Linked DNA regions of Homo sapiens: region 1 is linked to region 2. Evidence: promoter capture Hi-C in 16 types of primary human blood cells and fetal thymus (Javierre and others, 2016). All regions are on one chromosome and are shown on one strand. The core of a region is centred on a gene start or on the middle of the fragment in contact, and the rest is flanking DNA. Distances in the headings are between cores, read along the strand shown.

The links. The method cuts DNA at HindIII sites, captures the fragments that hold promoters and counts their contacts. A CHiCAGO score of 5 or more calls a contact.
Region 1: a contact is called between a fragment that was not itself captured here and the fragment with the promoter of WNK2 in region 2, in 2 of 17 cell types (M1 macrophages and M0 macrophages). The highest score is 6.4, in M1 macrophages.

The regions. Positions count from the first base shown.
Region 1 is chr9:93,295,516-93,301,733 of GRCh38, reverse strand. WNK2 (WNK lysine deficient protein kinase 2) reads right to left here. Exons shown (of 30, transcript NM_006648.4): 24 at 3,667-3,881; 25 at 2,473-2,664; 26 at 1,585-1,683. Among named protein-coding and RNA genes, the nearest start is that of WNK2, 110 kb to the right of the region's middle. RefSeq lists enhancers at 1-533, 2,482-2,982. The HindIII fragment of the contact is 6,626 bases long and covers 502-6,218 here.
Region 2 is chr9:93,180,478-93,186,483 of GRCh38, reverse strand. It overlaps WNK2 (WNK lysine deficient protein kinase 2), which reads right to left and starts at 2,345. Exons shown (of 30, transcript NM_006648.4): 1 at 2,099-2,345; 2 at 874-1,556. The coding sequence starts at 1,554. RefSeq lists an enhancer at 1-307. The HindIII fragment of the contact is 9,715 bases long and covers 1-6,006 here.

The sequences.
Region 1 (6,218 bases), core at 2,565-5,064, 110 kb before region 2:
CCAGTGACAGCCCCAGATCGAGCCGCACATGCAGGAGCCGGAAGAGGAGCAGCAAGTGAGGCACAAGGCCAGCAGGGCCGGGAACCGGCTGCGGAGAAGGAACCACAGCCGGCTGCCATAAGAGGACCCAGAGACGCAGGGGTGGGGGGGAAGGCGCCCACTCCTCCCCAGATTCAACTCAGCAACTCACCAGACACCAGGCCACCCAGACCCCCAGACCAACAGCCCAGATGACATGGTGGCCGAAACAGGGCAGCCTGTTAAACAGGCGAACGGGAAGCCCTGGGAAGGCCCTGGCATTCCTACATGGCCCTTGTGTCCTCGAATTGCCTGCCCGGAGAATGATGACCCACATGGACCTCTGATGGGGTGGGTGGATGGCAGTGGACGCCTCCCACAGGCATGGCCTCTGGCTCCCAACAAGCACAATGTATCTTTATTGTACAAGCAAAAAGTCACGTGCCCCAAACCAGCATATCCAATCCAATTGTTGAAAAAGCTTAATTTTCCTGTTAAAAAGACAAAAGCCTAAAAATCTCACAGCTTTTGGTTCACTGGCCGATCGTCCTGAGGGTTAAAAACAAACTGCGTGCTTTGGGATGGCCCCAAGCAGGCAGAGCCTTCCCTGGAGATGGAGTTCCTGGGCACTAACTGTGTTCCAGGGGATCTGAGCAAGGCTGGGACTGGGTTTTGGCTTAGTAGCAATTGGAGGAACTGCGTCATTGACTTCATCCCTGCGGTCATGGGAGGTCACAGGAAAATACAGCAAGTAAAGTGCTCCCACTGGCTGGAGGAGGAGGAGGAGCCGGCCAAGCAGGATGCATGCTCCAAAGAAGAGCTGCCCAGGTGGCCGTCACTCTCCTATTTGGGGTTGGAGACAGCAGTGGGTGAGGAGCAATGACAAAGGGGACCAGACCTGCCCTTCCAGTGGGGAGGGGCTGGGGAGGCCCGAACTGGAGCACGTTCTCTCAGCATTTCCACATGCAGGGCACAGGGCGGTGGGTGTGCAGGGTACTGGGTGCTGGGATTTGGCCCTGGTACAGAAACCACGCCCTCCAGTGACCTTTAGAACCGTATAGGCTCGCTATGTGCATGTCTTCACAGTCCAGACACGCGTGACACACACTGTGCATCTGGAGGAGGTTGGGGTTGTCTTTTTGTTGTCGCTGGAACTGGGGACAGCGGACATGTATATTTGCCACAATTGCAACAGAAAAAAAAACTACATCCAACATAAAAAAAAAAATTAAATAAATGAGGTGACGAAAAGAATGCAAAGGGCTCCAGTCCTTCTGGGCAGAGGTGCCCGGGGCGGAAGGCAGGCCAGCCGCTGCACATGCTTTCCGTGCCCAGGCACCAGCCATGAGCATGCACACACGCTGTGTGGGGCTTGGGGGTAGGCGCTGGCGGCCGCCGCTCCAGGGGACCGGCTCATGGGGTTCCACTTTGATATTAAATAGGTGACTTCGATGGGGTGGGGGAGGCATCCTATGAAATGTATGAAAGGTAATGAAGACAGGGAGGGGGTGGGGGGAGAAAACCAAGGGCCAGGAGGTGATAAAATACAAAAGAACAAATACAGACAGATGGACACAGATACGGGTCCACTGAGGAATCGAGCACGAGGTTTGCTACTAGACTTATAGGTCACTCTCTCAGACGTTGGGTGGTAAACCGTCCAGCCTGCAAATGAATATAAAGGGAAGAAAACAAAGAGACACTCATCAAGTACAGGTTGCTGCGATTCCTCCTCCACACCAACAGCCACACCAGCCTCGTCACTTAACATCCACGGCTCCATCTAGCCCAGCCCGGAGCACCAAAGCCACTGACCATGTAATGGGAAGGAGGCAGCGGGAGAGCAGAAGAGAAGCAGCCCGGAGAGGGGCGGGCAGGGTGGGGTGGGCGGGGCGGGGCGGCTTCATGGTCACCATGATTTCTCTGGACAGAGATGGTGAGGACAGGAGAGCACCTTATTGAGCAGCTGCTGCTGTCCACGCAGCGTTGACGAGAGAATTTCCTCCTCAAGGCCAAACTCCCAGCTCGAAAGCTGTGCCCTCGTCCCCCCAGCCGTCCCTCTGGACTTTGGAAGGACCCGGTGTTTAGCACCATCTGGCTCCGCTGTGGGGGTGGGGGTGGGGCAGCCAGTGCCTGGGAACTGGCGCCGGAGCACACAGCCGGATGCCAGGTCCCCTGCCCTCCCCAGTCCTAGCCACTTCCCCAAGGTCCACTCTAGCAAAGCATCACCTCCCCCTGAGCTGCTTACAAGCAAGACTTGGTGGTGGATGGGACAATTCCATTCCTTTCATCCAAAGACTACACCTTTTTTTTTTTATCCTTTTTAAAAGAAGCCTCTCAACAGCCTTTGCCACAGCTTGCAACCCCTCTACACAACACGGGCGTGCTCCTGGGGACACCACTGAGGCCCTACGTGGCTAGCACATGCTCGGAGACAGGCAAGCTGGAAATCACCTTGGCCACGCGCTCCGCCTCCATCACTGGCTAAGCCGGAGCAGATGTCCGAAGACAGGGAGGCCCGGACGGAGCAGGGCTGCTGGGTCTGCACTGCCTTCCCGCTCAGGCCCGTGCTGTCTGCAGTGAGCCCCACACTGGCTTGGGCAGGGTCCTTAGCGGGAGGGCCTCTGCTGGAGTCAGCCAAGTGACCTGGGCGGGGGGAGAAGAGGCGACAGGCACGATGAGGCGCCGCCGGGTCGGGGCCGTGTGGATTGAGTCTGTTCTGCCTGCTTATTGCTGGGTGACCTTGGGGAAGCTCACGTCTCCTGCAGACCACAGGCACATGGCCACATCTCCCACAGAGGAGTGATGGGGAAGAGCAAAGAAAGTGCCCAGTCTCTACCAGCCCCCACTGCCGTGCTGGACTTGTGTTGAGCAAATATAGTGACAGAAGACACACCCAGGCACACAGTGGCCTGTGTACTTCTCATCTCAGTCTTCCCTTAGCTCTGGGAACTGTCTCTGAATTCGTGTAATGGGTATAATTCATGGCTGTGTGCCCTGAAGGTTGTGGGCTTATAGTGAGCTTATGGTGGCTTGCCTGGCATGCTTGGGGACTTGGGCTCACAGGGGCTCCATCCCAGACTGCCAGGGCTCTCCACCAGCAAGCAGGCTGCAGTGCTGCTCAGGAGGCCTCAGGAAGCCCTGACATGCAGGGACGTGGGCTGGTGGCTGCCTGGGGCCAGGCCAGTGCCACTCAATGACTAGGTGTCACCTTTAACAAGACTGGGAGATCATCACCGTCCTCCCGTCCTCCCCCAGCCCCTAACGACAGCTGCTCGGCTGGCACACACCCAAGAAATGGGTCAAAGGAAGCAGCCACCATCCGTCCACGCAGTGCCCTGCAGAGGAGCAGGTGAGGGAGGGCAGCCTGAGCTTCCCTGGCACAGCCCACAGCCTAGAGTCTCAGGCCCAACGCTGAGCAGCCCCTGCCCACTCACGGGCCTTGCCTCTCTGCATGAGGACGGAGGACCAGGGCTGCCTTCATGCTGCAATGACTCCCCTGCTCCAGGGAAAGGAGATTCAGTAAGGAGATAACCCCGAGTGGTCTTCCAGGTCCGAGGGTGTCACACCTGCACGGAGCCTACCTCCCAGGCTCACTCGGGGGTCCCCAGCCCCGCTCCCATCCCAGCCCTGCACCCGGAGGCCGACCTGTGCTGGAGGCCACGACCTTGAGCTGCCGCACCAGGGGATTTAGCAGCTTGCCTGCCTTCAGCTTGCTCTTGCTGGTTTTTCTCCGGCGGCCAGTGGGGGGTGCCGTGTGGAAGAAGCCCACGTTGGGGGGCAGTGGCTTGCCCAGGCGGCGGTACAGAGCTTCGATCTCCTGCTTCTGCTGGCTCTGCAGCTCCGAGATCTCCTTCAGGTGCCTGCAGGAGGGGACAGGAGGGAGCGCCGATGGGCTTCCTCGGTGTTTCCAACACCGCCAGCTCCTCCAGGAGGGAGGTGGCGTGGGAGAACATGGGATGAAGGGTGGGCACCCTGCCTGTGCCTTGGCCTGGGCCACTCTAAAGCGGCACACAGGGGCTGTAAAATGACACTGTTTGTTCATATCTAAACGGGGAGGTCCCAAGGTAGTGGGCCTCTGGCATCGACGTGCCCAACAGCACGGGCCAGGCTAAGAAGCCTCAAACTTCCAAATACCCAGACTCGGAATGCTTACATTGATACTTGCAATGAAAGTCCCAAACATGAACACAGGTGAAGGGAAATCAGCAGGTGCCAGGCACTAGAGACTGCCTCCATTTATCAGGCAAATGTGTGTTATTTCCTCCACAGGGGAAACAGACAGTGGAAGGCAGCTCAGACCAATGCAACACGGCATGAAGAAGTCAGCGAGACGCTCACTGACTTCCAGGGGCCATGCCACACCATATGTGAGCCCACTGCCACAGGTCCCACATCACCCCGCAGGTGAAATGCAGGTGGCTCATTGACCATGGGCAAGGGCAGAGTCTAGAACTGCCGAGGCAAGAGGAGGATGCCCAGGGGAGGATGCAAAGGGGAGGATGCGGAGGGGTGGATGCAGAGAGGAGAATGTGGAGGGGAGGATGGGAAGGGGAGGATGGGGAGGGGATGACGCCGAGGGGAGGACGCCGAGGGGAGGACGCCAAGGGGAGGAAGCCGAGGGGAGGAAGCCGAGAAGAGGATGTGGAGGGGAAGATGCGGAGGGGAGGAAGGTGAAAGGAGGATGCTGAGGGGTGGATGGGGAGGGGAGGATGCGGAGGGGAGGAAGCCAAGGGGAGGAGGCCGAGGGGATGCAGAGGGGAGGAAACAGAGGGGAGGAAGGTCGAGGGAGGTAGAATGGGGAGGGGAGTAGGCTGAAGGGAGGATGCGGAGGGGAGGGTGCGGAGGGGAGGAAGGTGAAGGAAGGATGGAGGGGGAGGAAGATGAGGGGAGAATGGAGAGGAGAGAAAGGTGAGGGAAGGATGGAGGGGGAGGAAGGTGAGGGGAGGATGGAGAAGGGAGGATGGAGGAGGAGGAGGAAAGTGAGGGGAGGATAGAGAGGGAGGAAGGTGAGGGGAGAATGGAGAGGGGAGGAGGATGAGGGGAGGATGGGCAGGGGAGAAAGGTGAGGGGAGGATGGAAGGGAAGGAAGGTGAGGGGAGGATGGAGAGGGAATGATGGAGAAAGGAGGATGAAGGGGGAAGAAGGTAAGGGGAGGATGGAGAGGGGAGCATGGAGAGGGGAGGAGGCCAAGGGGAGGAAGGTGAGGGGAGGATGGAGGGGGAGGAGGGAGAAGGAAGGATGAAGAAGGAGGAAGGTAAGGGGAGGATGGAGAAGGAGGAAGGTGAGGGGAGGATGGAGGGGGAGGAAGGTGAGGGGAGGATGGAGGGGGAGGAAGGTGAGGGGAGGATGGTGAGGGGAGGATGGTTAAGGGAGGGTGGTGAGGGGAGGAAGGAGAGGGGAAGATGGAGGGGGAGGAAGGTGAGGGGAGGAAGGTGAGGGGAGGATGGAGGGGACGATGGAGAGGGGAGGAAGGTGAGGGGAGGATGGAAAGGGGAGGAAGGTGAGGGAAGGATGGTGAGGGGAGGGTGGTGAGGGGAGGATGGTGAGGGGAGGGTGGTGAGGGGAGGAAGGAGAGGGGACAATGGAGAGGGGAGGAAGGTGAGGGGAGGATAGAGGGGGAGGAAGGTGAGGGGAGGATAGAGGGGGAGGAAGGTGAGGGGAGGATGGAGGGGATGATGGAGAGGGGAGGAAGGTGAGGGGAGAATGGAGAGGGAAGGAAGGTGAAGGGAGGATGGTGAGGGGAGGATGGAGAGAGGAGGAAAGTGAGTTGAGGGTGGAGAGGGGAGGAAAGTGAGGGGAGGTTGGAGAGAGGAGGAAAGTGAGTTGAGGATGGAGAGGGGAGGAAGGTGAGGGGAGGATGGAGAGAGGAGGAAAGTGAGTTGAGGATGGAGAGGGGAGGAAAGTGAGGGGAAGCTGGAGAGACAAGGAAGGTGAAGGGAGGATGGAGAGGGGAGGATAGAGAGGGGAGGAAGGTGGGGGAGGAAGGTGAGGGGAGGATGGTGACGGGAGGATGGAGAGGAGAGGATGGGGAGTGGAGCTGGGCCTCCCTGTTGCATCACAGTGCTCTGAGCTTCTGCAAGGCCTAAGGCCACCCCAGGGGCCCTGGCTGGAGGCCTGTAACCCCTTGCCTTCACCCCAAGTGCCCCTCCTCTTCCTTTGATGGCAAGAAAAACAGGTAGTTTTCAAGGTCGGAAATG
Region 2 (6,006 bases), core at 1,096-3,595:
CCTCCAAGGAGGGAGGCCTGTAAACACCCCCTGGACAGGCATGGCCTCTGCTTCCTAGGCTGTCCCAGGACAGCTAAGGTGGCTGTTTATATAATCTTGCAGGGCTGGGGCTGACACCACGGTGATGGCAGGATTATGAAAAATGCATGCCCAGAGCCTCTGCAGCCAAGAAAAACCCCCACACGCATTCTGCATGACTCGGTTTTAAGACCTCTCACACGTCCATTTTGTGAACAAATGGAGCTCTCAGAGCAGCAGAGGCGACTAACCACACTTCCAGGCCTTGCCCAGCTGTCCCCAGAGCTCTACCAGGCACCACCTCTGGGTCACAGGCCCTGGGTCAGAAGAAGTCTCTGCAGGTATCCCTGCTGGGGCAGCCACGGCTTGCTGGACACAGGAAAGTACTAATTTATGGGCAGCCCAGAGCCCCCAAAACACTCTGACTGCACACACCGGGCCTTGAAGCCTCCACACTGTTTTGCAAAGACACAACAGTCCAGACTCCCTGGGTCATTAAAGTAGGTCATCGGGACTGGAGAAGCAGCAGCCTAAGAGACACAGCCTCCGAGGCCCACTCTCCAGGACCCTCTCTACGCCCACAGCGTGCACACTTACACCAAACGCACAACAGAGGCCTGCCCTCGCCACCAGCTGACTCACAAACCGCAACCTGCGCACGGACACAGCCAGGCCCCACATGCCGTCCGCACACCTGGTATGCATCCTGCCAGCCATCCACACAGAGGGTGACACACATGGAGCCCCGCCGCCCCCAGGGCTTCTTAAGGCCAGGCGCAGGAGCAAGGACAGGCCCAAGGACGCACTCGCGGACAGACCCTGCGGAAAGCCCCCTGCGGGCTGGGGCACCCTCACCTGCAGCTCACACCAGGCCACCTCCACCCAGGTCTCCGTGTCCAGCCCCTTGTAGACCGTCTTGAAGGAACCGCGGCCCAGCTCGATGTCGAACTTGAGGAAGCGGCCGTCCAGAGAGGTGGCCACGGCCTTGAGGTCGTCCTCGTCGTCCTCCTCCTCTTCGGGCTCGTCCCGGCGAGTGCGCCCGGGCTCAGGCTTCGCCTCGGCCGCCCCCTCATCCTCCTTCCTCACGGTCGCCGCCGCCTCCTCCCTGGGGCCGCCGTCGGGGGCAGGCGCGGTTTCGACAGCGGCTGCGATGGGGTCCGGGCCGGGCTCCTGCGTGCCCACGGGCTCGGGGCCGGCGTCCGCGGGGGCTCCGGGGGCTCCCGGCTGCGCTACCAGCGCTGCGGGCGCGGGGGCGGCGGGGCGTCCGCGGGCGCGCTCCGCGATGAGGCGGCGCGTCTTGCAGAGCAGAAGCACCCGGCGCTGCAGGGGCTGCGGGGGCTGCGGGCCCGGCGCCTCGGCTGCCTCCAAGCCCGGCGGCTCCTCCTGGTCCGACTCTACCACGCTGCGCCGCAGAAAGCGCTGGGGCCCCGGCCGCGCCGCCTTCGCCCGAGGCTCCGCCATGCCCGCGGGCCCCGCGCCGCGCCCGGGCTCCATCAGCGTGCCGGGGACGTCTCGGCGGCCGCCATCGCCGTCCATCTCTGTGGGCCAAGGACACACAGGCCCGCGTGAGCGCCGGCCCTGCCGCACCTGCCCAGGCCGCCGGATGAGACAACGCCGCCCTAAGCCCGCAACCTGCCCAGCCCCGGCCGCGGAGAGAGCCTGCGGGGGCCGTCTCTGGGGGCCCTGGGAAAGGGGGGCTGCAGACGGGACCAGAGGCTTGGGTTGGGGAGGAGGGGTCCGTGCCCTGCTCAGCCCCAGGCTGCGGAGAGGGACGGGCCTGTGGTGTCCCTGGAACCCTGGGAGAGAGGACCTGCTAGGGTGTCCCTGAGGGCCCCGGAGGCCGGCAGAGGGATCTCGCGCCCTGCCCAGCCCTGGCCCAGGAGGGTTCTGCTAGGCTGTCCCGGAGGCAGCTGTAAAGGGGATAGGGAAGCCCGGGGGTGGGAGGAAGGCAGTGGCCCGGCGGCGGCTCCACAAAGGACGCGGGCCCGGGGCGCGGGAGGGGCGCGCGGGGAGGGGGCTGCAGCGCCGCGGCGCGCACACAAAGGCGGCGAGCGGCGTTGAGGGGAGGCTCGGCACTCACAGGGCGAGCGGACGCCGTCCATGCCCGCGGCCCGGCGGCCAGGGCGTGCGAGGCGGGAGAGATCACGCTTCGAGGACGGGGTCCGAGTTCCGGGCGAGGTCCGCGCTGGGGTGGGGGCCGTGGCGCCGCTCCAGCTCCTGCGCGCTGCTCTCTCGGGCCGGGCCACTGCGGGGCCGCGCTCCCGCGTGCTCCTGCCGGCTTCGCGCGGCTCCGCTCCCGCACCGGCTCCGACCCGGCGCGCGGGGAGGGCGGGGCTCCGTTCGCCCCGCCCCGGACCGGCGCAGGGGGCTGGGCCTGGCACGCCCACCTGGCTGCGGACGGGCTGGCTGACTGGCAGGCGCGCGCGGCCACCTGCGGGCCGGCTACCTGGGCTCCCACCCGCGGTTCTTTGCTCGAGGTAGCGCTCCTGTCCTCTGAAGTTCTTTGGAACGCCCCGCAGGGCTGTCAGCTGCGGAGGACCCCGTTTCTTCCTGAGAGGAGGCAGCAGGCTCAACGCCTCAGCACGCCGCAGCCCGGCGCGCTAGACCTCAAGGCCCTGTGCCAGGACAGAATGGGCAGGCTAGGAAGAAAAGGACCAGGGGTACCGCCGCCCTCGGGAGCCCAGCCTGGGGCTAAGCCTGGTGGGGCTCAGCGTGTCCTTTCCTGCCCTCACTTCACCACCAGGAACCATGAGGACCTCATCATCACCCAGGGAGGCACTGGTGATCATTATGCCCATTTCACAGTCTAGAGCAAACTGAGGCGCCAAAGGCAGAAGTTATATGCTCTAAATCCCAGAACTTTCAAGACCGAAGCTGAGCTGGAATGCCTTGGATGGGATATGGAGAGGCTTCCAGAAGCCCCTTGACCCAAAGTGTTCTTCCTTCCCACCTCTGCCAGATGCCACCTCTCCCGAGAAGTCTTCCATGATCTCTAGCTCCTTCCTCCTCTAGACCCCCACGGACAAGCCCTCTCTTGGGCGTCTCTGGCCCTAATGCAGCAGGTGACCTGTGTCAGTAACCATACTGCTAAGTTCTGAGCCCTGCTCCAGGCAATGCCCTGAGCTAACACTTCACCCTTACCCCAGCCTCCATGATCCTAGGTGAGGAAACTGAGGCACAAGGGAGATACCAGAGTATTCTCATCTCAGTCCCCATCCCACTGGGCTGGCACCCCCATCAGATACACACACACTTCCAGAGATGAAAAGATGCTTGTGGGCCTGTAGGCCTTGGAGCCCCTGGCACAAAATAACTCATGTGGCATAAAAGCCAGCAGAGGCGATATCTCACCTTCACAATGTAGAGGGAAGAATATGCCAGGCCAACTGTTACCCAGAGAAGCAGGACTTCCTGGAGCCCCGCTGGGCACTGGCACTGGCTGAAACTAATTTGTGAGGGGCAACAGTGAACATCCCTTCCCAGCTCTGGGTTCAGCAATGCCACCCTGTAGCCTGAAGTCAGCAATGCTGGGAGTATTTACACTGCGGAAATTGGCAAACACCTCAAATCAGGACTTTTCTCCCCAGAGAGCCAGTGGTTAAATAGTGTGCTAGGTGTAGGGCTATGCATTTGGCACTTGCCTGTTATTTATATAATCTAATCTACCGTGTGAGACAGGCATTCATTCCGGGGCTCAAGTCCGCTGGCATGAGCCCAGAGCTCACACGAGGAGGAGGCCAAACAGCAGACGCCAGCTCTGCAGGACAGAGAGGCCTGAGGGACAGGGATCTAAGTTGCATCTCCTGGGGCAGGAGTCTTCCAGGTAGAGGTCAGGGGTGGAAAAGGATCTTTTCTGTCTTCCCTTTGGAGGCTAAAGACCCCCCAACCTTGCCCCTAACCAGCTGAGTGAACTTGGGCAAGTCCTGGTCCTTCCTGAGCCTCAGTATCTGGCCCTGCAGAGTGGGCTGATCATCCTGACTTGCCCACCTTAAAAGGCTGCCAATTCCTTGTAGATTCAGTCAATCTAGGAAGGGCACCAAGTCCACAGACCTGTTCATGATGGGTGTGTTCAAGCCTATCCAAGGGAAAACCAGGATGGGACAGAGCTAAGCGTGTTCTGAGACCAGCACACACCTATCTGGCCTCCTCCTGCTCCCAACAGGCCACACTGGCAGTGTGTGGGCAAAATACCTGCCAGCATCGGAGAAGGTTCATCAGCACCCATGGCTGCTGCCCACCCACACTTGTACACATGCGTGGGAAAGGATGGCTACACCCACAAATCAGCAGGGAGCAGCCCAGGCTGTGGGGAGTGGGGGACAGCCTGTCCCTGAGAGAGTACTGTGTGCTCTCTGAGCCCTTGGGGTGAATTCACGCATCTCTGCTTACACACCTCCCATGGTGGAGAGCTCATTCTCTCTGCCAACCCATGACCATTAGGGTACACAGCTAAGTCAGTAGTGGACAGGTCACAGTTTCCTCTGCAAGGAATCTCAGGCTGGGCTCAGGAGCAGCTCCTGGGATCCTGGCAGATGGAGCCTGAGGGATCCTTGGACAGACCTTGGAAGTCAGGACTTCACAGCACTGGCTATATGCCCTTTGGCAGGTCACTGGATATCTCTGAGCTTCCATCTCCCTGCTGCTAAGACGGGGAGTATAAATACTGTAGTCTGCTTTACTGGGTGTCCTGAGGCTGCATGATCCAGGGTCATGATGCCAGCATTTGTCTTTTGGAGGTTTGTTTTTTGTTTTCTGCTTTTGTTTTTGTTTTTTTGAGATGGAGTTTCACTTTGTTGCCCAGGCTGGAGTGCAGTGACGGGATCTCAGCTCAGCTCACTGCAACCTCTGCCTCCCAGGATCAAGCAATTCTCCTGCCTCAGCCTCCTGAGTAGCTGGGATTACAGGCGCCCACCACCACGCCCAGCTAATTTTGTATTTTTAGTAGAGATGAGGTTTCACCATGTTGGCCGGGCTGGTATCGGACTCCTGACCTCAAGTGATCCAACCACCTCAGCCTCCCAAAGTGCTGGGATTACGGGGCAGCATTTGTCTTCGATGTTTAGAACAGATGAGTACATTGAGGTCTTGCCCAGAGATTTTTCAACTTTAAGTAACTTTCTCAAGGCCTCAGAGTGGAGACAGTGACCTCTACCCACAGCTATCACCTTAGCTTCCACAATGCCAGGGAGCCCCTTTGGTGAAAAAAGTTTCTCCCAAGTCCAGGCTATGCTCCAGCCTACCCAGCCAGTAGGCACGTGCAGGCACACACCTGCTCCATGCAGATGCAGTTCCAGGAGCTGGGCCTCAGCAAGCAACAGGACCATGGTTTCAGTTTGCTCATCTGTGAGATGGGCATAATGGTCATGCTCAACAGTCTTGGCAACAAAAGGCATTCAACAAATGCTCATGAAAGAAGGGAGGAAAGGAGATGGGGCTAGCTCCACTGCCTCTGCTCACATCAGGGCCCATTGAGGGTCACTGGCTAGAAGGAAGAGCAGGGTCTAGCCATGCCCAGCTGGAGCTCAGTCCACAATTGCCCCGTGGGGCAGGTTCTGCCTCTGAGTGGAGTCAGGCAACCTATCTAGTGCTCAGGTCCAGTGTGGCCAGGCCACTTGCCTGAGTGCCCCCCGGGTCACACCATGGGGAGAATACCCTGGCAGGGGCATCAGATGGGGAGGACAGTGCTGGAAAAGCAGAGCCCAGAGAGGCCAGGCAAGTGGCTTGGGGGAATGCAGGAAGACCTGTGACCTGAGGAAGGGCGTGGGGACAGGATGAAGGCCTGACAGTGTGTGGTGGCAGGAAGGTGGCAGTAGGTGGGAGCAGGTGGGCTGTGGAAGCTCGGGCCCCTACTCCTGGAAGATGATGTCAGAGGATGGGAAGGGCATGACCAGGCTGCAGTGTCTTCCTGCTGTGGGTCATAGAGCCTCAGGACAACCAGCAGGATGGAAGCTCCCCGTGGGTAGGGCCTGAGGTAGGCAGGTCGGGTGG